Regions from separate parts of the Homo sapiens genome. Here region 2 is linked to region 1. The links are contacts of gene promoters, found by promoter capture Hi-C in human tissues and cell types (Jung and others, 2019). All regions are on one chromosome and are shown on one strand. The core of a region is centred on a gene start or on the middle of the fragment in contact, and the rest is flanking DNA. Distances in the headings are between cores, read along the strand shown. Region 1 holds the start of OTP (orthopedia homeobox). Region 2 overlaps AP3B1 (adaptor related protein complex 3 subunit beta 1).

What was found. The method cuts DNA at HindIII sites, captures the fragments that hold promoters and counts their contacts. A contact is called where the count stands out against the background at its distance.
Region 2: a fragment that was not itself captured here is called in contact with the fragment with the promoter of OTP in region 1 in 1 of the 25 tissues and cell types used here (lymphoblastoid cells).

What each region holds. Positions count from the first base shown.
Region 1 is chr5:77,636,945-77,640,713 of GRCh38, reverse strand. OTP (orthopedia homeobox) reads left to right here and starts at 2,001. Exons shown (of 3, transcript NM_032109.3): 1 at 2,001-2,201; 2 at 3,484-3,769. The coding sequence starts at 2,165. RefSeq lists enhancers at 904-1,458, 1,459-2,015. The HindIII fragment of the contact is 12,469 bases long and covers 508-3,769 here.
Region 2 is chr5:78,088,539-78,092,307 of GRCh38, reverse strand. It overlaps AP3B1 (adaptor related protein complex 3 subunit beta 1), which reads left to right. Exons shown (of 27, transcript NM_003664.5): 22 at 2,809-2,915. Among named protein-coding and RNA genes, the nearest start is that of AP3B1, 200 kb to the left of the region's middle. The HindIII fragment of the contact is 4,309 bases long and covers 1-3,769 here.

The DNA.
Region 1 (3,769 bases), core at 752-3,251:
CTTCTAGATTTGAGGTTTTGTTTGGGGGCAAAGAAAGCTTTTATTGGGGAGACTTTGTTTGCTTTAGGTCTCGGAATTCTCCTCCCAGGCAAAGCGTTTCTCAGAAGGGCTGCGGCCGCTTGCCAAAAACCCTAGCGGCTCCCAGACACGCCGCGAGCCTGAGTCCACGACCCCGGCGCCCAGTCCCACATAGGCCGCGTTGGTAGCAGCTGCAGCAGCCGCTGAAACCCAGTCCGGCCCGGAGCTTCCCGGGAAGCGGTCTCCGCAGCTCAGAAGAAACTGGTGTGGCCAATACCCTGCATTCACACGTGTGTGCATATGTGTGCGCGCGCACGTGTGTGTGCAGGAGAGGAGGCGAACGGGCTGCAGGAGGGAAGGAGGAAACAAAACTGCCCGAGAGTTCGCTTTGCCGCCTCCTTTGTCTCCTTGCTCGGTCCCTGTCACACATACAGCTGAGGACACACACACACACACACACACACACACACACACACACAATTCCTCTCGCATCTGCTCTCAGCCAGCATTTTCAATGTTTTGTCTAAGTCAATTGGACGGCGAACAAAAAAAGCCATTTGCTCAGTATTATTTAAAACAGACTTCATTGGGCCACCCTTTTGTGGAAGGTTTATTTGCACTAAATGAATAATCTTAATTGCATCACTCTCGAATTAAAAATCAATGTTAATCAAGTTGGGAGTAGTAAATATCAGTTTTCATTGTGACTGGGTAGAGGGCATTTTTCTTGTGTTGCAAATAAAAATACAAGTCAAATAACTTTAAAAGGGCATTATGTTCTGCTACAAATACAATTGAAACGGATTGTTTAGGAGCAGATCAGAAATGGTACAGAATTTTGCACTTAATTTCCTCAGTTATCATTTACAATAAGAACCTCTAGGCTTGACAGCCAAGTCTAAACAGTAGTAAATTAGTACAAATTTATACTGATTTTACTCTAATAATCGTAATAAAAGCTTATAGATTTGGCACTAATTACATAAATGCCTAATGATCTTGAAAATTACTCTGGTTAGAAATATATTACTAATCTAAACTTTGTTGTTGGCTGGCTCTGAAAAATCAGAACATTAGAAATGGTTCGCTTCACTTGTGCAAAGCACTTTAAATTGTTCAAGTAGTTTAACATATTCAAGAGGAAAATAAAGAGCATTTAACTTTATTTACAGCCTTAAGTGGAGTTGGGAGCCGAGCTGAACTTAGAAACTTTGACCAAAAGAGCGAGTTAGGGGCGAGGATGCGGGCGTGGGCCAAGCGGAAGAGCAGGAGCCGGGAAGAAGCCCGGTGAGAAGAGTGCAGAGCGCTCGAACCCACACTCCGCGAGGGTCCCCAAAGCAGACAGCGGGCGCTGGCGGTGCCAGGGAAGCCGACTCCTCTTTGCGCTCTAGGCCCACTGTGGGGTTGGGGCTCGTATAGACCCCAGGGCACAGCCAGGGCGCCTGGACCCTAGGCGCAGGCCTACTGAGCCGCGGCGAAGTCCAGGCGTTGTCTGAAGGCCGCGGTGTGCCCTCGTCGCGCCCTGGGCTGGCGGGCCAATATGAGCGGCAGGCCCAGAGAGCGCAGGTGGGGGCGACCCTCAGGTCACGCCAGGGTCATGGCCCGCTCTGACCCCTGCTCTGCCCCTGCCCTAGGAAGATGTTAGCTCAGAGGCACAGAGCTACGCCTTCGAAGCGCGCAGCGCCGGCCAAGGGGAAGGAAAGGGGAGCCTGGAGAAAATCGCAGGGAAGAACTAGAGGGAGCCGGGCCCAGAAGCTCAGGGCGAGGCCGAGGCGGCTGAGGCTGCTTTAGCTCCTGCTCCGGGCTGGAGCTGCCAGGGCTGCCGCCGCCGCCTCCTTCAGGCGGGCGCAGGCGAGCGGGCGGGCGGAGTGGGGGACTCTCCGGGCGCTGACATTTGCAGGCTGCCCTCCTGATTGGTCCCCTCGCCGAGCTGCTCACGGGTTCATTCAACTGTTAAGCACCTCCCCGTCTCTCTAAAGGACATTATAATGCAAGAAGCCCCCTTTTTAACCACAAACCGAATTTTCTTTCATTTAGGTGATCTATATATATCTATATCGTATAGCTTATAGCTTATATCTATTTTAAATAACTTAAAGCCGCTAAAATTTGGGGGGGAACAGCTTTCGCCCTGGAGCGGTGCGCGATGCTGTCTCATGCCGACCTCCTGGACGCCAGGCTAGGTGAGTGCGCGCCTCTCGCCCGGGCAGCCAGGAGAAGCCGGGGCAGGAAATTGTCAATTTGTTCCTTATTTTACCTTAATGCGACCTAAATGGACTAATTTCTTTAAAAGTAATTGTGCTGCATTAAAGTTTAATTTGATTTAACATCGCCTTTAAAAAAAAATCTATGGAATATGTAGATCCAAGAAAGGAGTTGGGGAATGTTGTTACTTTTTGTTTTTCTTATTTTTCTCTTCCCCCCTCCCCCGCCTTTTTTTTTTTTTCGAAAGGCGATATACCCCGTGATAATTTGTTAGGAGGTGTTTCTCTCTCTTTTTTCCCTCTCCTGTTTGTTTTGATTTGGGATTTCTTTCTCCTTCCCTCCCCCCGTTTCTCTCTCCCCACCATCTTCTTCTCTCCTCCTTTTCTAAGTGTGGTGTAATTTGTAAAAAATCTGGCATAAAGGAGAAGCTGCTGCCATCAAGGCGGATTTGCTAAGTGTGCTGGTTGAGAAGGAGAGAAGCCAAATTCAACCTCACAGTCATCCCCCCCTCTTCTGCAAGGGACTCAGCGTTGCCAATGGCTGTGAGGAATGCGCCTTTTATTTCTCTGGAAAGAAAAGTTGAAATCTCTAAAGTTTGATTCACGGTTGTCCATAGAGTTCACTCGAGTTTCCTTAATGCTATCTGGGTTGCTGAGCTCTGGGTTTCCGGATTGGGAATCTTCGGTGATGGATGTGACTCCATTTTCCAAACACTTTCTCTGATTTGAGGGGGAGGCGGAGCTGATTTGGGTTGATTTCGGGGGGTGAAAGCTTGGAGGCTTATTCATCTTCCGAAAGTAAGAGGGAATCGGCTGAGGGCCGGAGGTACAGTTCGTCAGGCTGCCGAAGCGCAGGTGCCGCAGCAACCGAGGAATTGTTTAATTTTCTTTCTGCCCCCCGCACCCCTGTGTCCAAAGATTTGCTCTCGATTTCCTGGGGCGCCTGGGGTACGGTTTATGGAAGGGATTCAGAGGCATGTTTTATTGCCGGGACTGGGAGTGTTTTATTGTGGGAGAGACGAAAGCTTGTGCTGTTTACTACGGGAGCCGGCTGCGGCGAGGGCAAGGGGCCGGGAGATATTATTCCAACCCGGCTGTCCAAATTCTGGGGAACCCAGCTGAATACCCTGGGAGTTTCTTCCTTAGGACAAGCGCGGGTGCGGAGGGGGCCGAGGACGGGTTGAAGGAAGGCTGCGCGGGGAAGACAGCCCCTCCTGGCATCGCCAAGAAAGTAGTGACCGCGATCCCCTTGCCTCCTCAGGTATGAAAGATGCCGCCGAGCTTCTGGGCCACCGGGAGGCGGTGAAGTGTAGGCTGGGCGTGGGGGGCTCCGACCCCGGGGGCCATCCGGGGGACCTGGCGCCCAACTCTGACCCAGTGGAGGGAGCCACTCTGCTGCCCGGGGAGGACATCACCACAGTGGGCTCTACTCCGGCCTCGCTGGCGGTGAGCGCCAAAGACCCGGACAAGCAGCCCGGGCCCCAGGGCGGCCCGAACCCCAGCCAAGCCGGCCAGCAGCAGGGCCAACAGAAGCAGAAGCGCCACCG
Region 2 (3,769 bases), core at 696-3,195, 450 kb before region 1:
AAAACCCATCCTTTTTTAAAAAACAGCAGAACTTGCTTGTGGTGTGAAGTTTCTTCTCTTGTCTCTTGATGGTATTTAGCCAAGCCACAGTTGAAATCAGAGGCTGTTTCTTATTCAGTTTTTTATTCGTTACATGGGCATTCTAATATTTTGAAAGGACAGATGGTGGACGGGTGGGTAGATAGATGTACAAAGGAATGAATAAACATGCATTTAGAACTTACCTGAAAAGTTACGTGTTGCATGGGAAGGCAACATATTATGATCCAAGTTAGAAGAAGCAGTTTCTAATTCTATAGTGGTTCTACCATTCACTTTTTATGACCTTGTCAATATTAATCTCCCTGTGGCTCAGTTTCCAGTGTCTTCAATATTAAATGCTCTTTTTAAGCCTTCTCATTGCCATTGGCTTACTTTAGTCTTTTTCACTTCATTCCTAAACTATTGTAAATTCTTCCCTACTCCCAACCCTGCCTTCAGTCTGTGCATTGTACTGCCATCTGATTAACCATCCTGCAGGACCATATTCATTGTCATTCCTCTGTTTGATCGATTTTTGACTGTTCCCCTTGGTCTATAGGATAAATCCAGTCCCCTTAGTTTTTCAATTTCCTACCTCTCAGCCTTTGTTTATAGCATTCTGTTATCCAACAATTAACTGGCTTCTTTCTTTCCTCTTATTCAAATCTCACTCTTACTTAAAAATTGGACTTCATTCCCTCCTGTTCATGAAGCCTCCTCTTCCACTCCTTCTCCAGTGATCCTTGTTTTGCCCCTGACTCTGTGACACTTGCTAAACTGTACCGGGGTTTTCAGTGTGGGTCTAAGGAAGCCTGGGGGTTTGAAGCTGTGCTTCAGCCGTACTAAGTGAGCGTAGGGAAGACCAAGAGCTCCACTCCCTCCCCATCCAACCTCCAGGCTGCTTTCTCTATTATATATGTTGAGATTTTGTTTAGTGTTTCCTTTGAAATTTTTCTTCTTTGGCCGTATCATTTATGGACTGTATTGTTACTTTTTTTTTTTTTTTTTTGTCAAATACATGTATCTCTTTTTCTTAATTAGGTTTTGTTACTTGAGGATCTTGAACTTTTTTGTCTCTCACTTGCTACCTTTCAGAATAAATATTTGTTGTTAACTTTACGGATTAATATTTGTTCTGCCTTGTTCACTGGATATTGTGAGACTGAAATGAGAAAAAGATGCTTTGAAAAGTAATGTCACAGCTGGGTGTTGTGGCACACGCCTGTAATCCCAGCAGTTTGGGAGGCCAAGGTAGGAAGATTGCCTGAGCCTAGGAGTTAGCGACCAGCCTGGACAACATGGGGAGATCCCATCTCTAAAAAAAAATAAAATAAAAAATAAAAAAAAAAGGCTGGGTATGGTGGCATGCACTTACTCAGGAGGCTGAGATTGCTTGGGCCCAGGAAGGGATTGCACCGCTTTACTCCAGCCTGGGCAACAGAGCAAGACCCTATCTCCAAAAATAAAAATAAAAAAAGAAATGTCAAATTAACTAAATGTTATTCCCTTTAGGGTATTATCTTGGAATGAGAATTTGTTGGAAGCTAAAACTTGACCACATTGTAATGTATTTTATTCAAATGGTTTAGAAACACCAAAAATTAATGTTATTGTCTGTTCACACAGACTAGCAGAAATGCAAACATGTAAAGACACAAATTTGTATTACATGAGAAGTACAGTTATAGAAGTTTGTTCAAGTATATCTGTGGAACAAAGAAGGCACATATAAGCTGTTTGCAGGTGAGCCAGAGAGTGTTTTCCTTTTAAAGGGTAGCTTGCCAGATCGAAGTTGCAAGATGAGCAAGGCAGAGAAGTAGGCAAACAGAGTAGAATATAAAAGGCTCCAAGACGTAGAACAAGATCTTGGGAACTATTATCCCATAGAGCTAGTGCATAACAATGCTGAAATTGGAGATAAGCTGGACCTGAATAGTCCAGTATGGCGGCCACAAGCCACATGTAATTACTTAAATTATGCAAAGTTTAAAATGCATTTATTTAGTCATACTAGCCACATATCAAGAGTATGTTAGGCATATGTGGCTAGTGTCCACTTTATCAAATGTAGAACATTTCCATTAGCATAGGAAGGGCTGTTTGGGCTGGGGCAGACCATAGAGGACTTTGTGAACTTAATTGAGGAGTTGGGCTTTTATCTTGTAGGCAGTTATGAGCCTTTGAAGAGTCTTAAGCAGGGGAGTAACATGACCAGACTTGCATTTTTAGAAGATTTCCAAACTTACAGGTATCAGTTCTCAAGTATATAGCAGTTTTAGAATCAGTCAAACATTTCTATCTAGCACATAGCTTTTGCTGAAAAAGTATAATTACAAGGGAATTAGGTAGCCTGATTAGAGTGGAGAATAAAATAGATATAGGATTTGAACATCTTTCAAGACTTCTAATTCCACTGCAGCATTCTCTTGGAAGCGGTTGTTATTCTTATGATAGTCTGGAAAAAAAATGTTTCTTTACTTTTTTAGGGAGATTACTGGGTGATAAATGTTAGTGATAATGTTATGTGATAAAAATTTTCACAAACTATTACTCAAGATATTTATATCCTTATTTTGTTATAGGATTTGCCATTATGTTTTGAAAGCTAAGACTAATAACTGCCATGACTTGATAATAAGTTGACTAAATCAAGATGTTAAATAGAATTGTCATACATTTATTAATCAAAGTAATTTAATTAGATTTACTAACAAAATAAAAATGTTGCTTTTAATAATTTGAATTAAACGTTCATGCACATTTACTAATTTGGGCCTTTTCTTACAGTTAACCCAGTATCCACTCCAGTTGCACTTCCCACACCAGCTCTTTCTCCAAGTTTGATGGCTGATCTTGAAGGTTTACACTTGTCAACTTCCTCTTCAGTCATCAGTGTAAGTTATTTTTAAAATCCACCAGCTCGGTTTTCTTATGTTGCCATTGTATCTTTTTTATTAAAATGTAAATACTTGAAGTGGATTCTTAGTTTTGAACAGATTCTTCTCTAAGAACAAGCCCAATTTAGCTAAGACCTTTTAATTTTTTAAATAATTTACTCAAACCATTATCTTCTCAATTTTTTTCCCTTGTTGTCCACACTTAATTATCATCTGTATGTTTTTCTCTGGTATTGTTATATATCTGTAACATACAAAGGTTCTTCACCACATTGACGCAGTACATATACCTGAACTGTGCCACAAAAAGTTGTCTACATTAACAGACTTTCATTTCCGTAATCGTTTTATTCCTACCACACTATTTTTTCATAGACTATTAAAAATTCATGACTGTTTTTATTTAAAAGTTCAAGATTTTTTTTTCTGTCTTATTTTTGTACATTTATTTACATGTGTTGGTGTCTTTAAAATTATTCTTTAATGTTATTTATAGAATGTGATGTGAAGTGAGGCTAGAACCTACCTGTCACAAAATAATGCAAAAACCGTCAACATATCATGGTATTTGAAGCTGCAACAACTGTTTATTGTGTTAGCATATTATATCCACTAACTTTTCACTGTAAATCAAGCACGCTGCGCCTAAGATGTATAATCTGTTGATATGCTTGACCTCCTGTTAATTTGTTGTCAGAAATCTGACAGACTAAGAGACAGAATAGTAAGCTTTGATGGGCATAGGTAGCTTCAATAGATCTGGTTCTCAGGGCTGGCAGGGTACTACATGGCATATAACTGATCATCTGAGCTGCCTGGGAGCATAGAGCTGCTTCTGCCAAAAGTGGGAG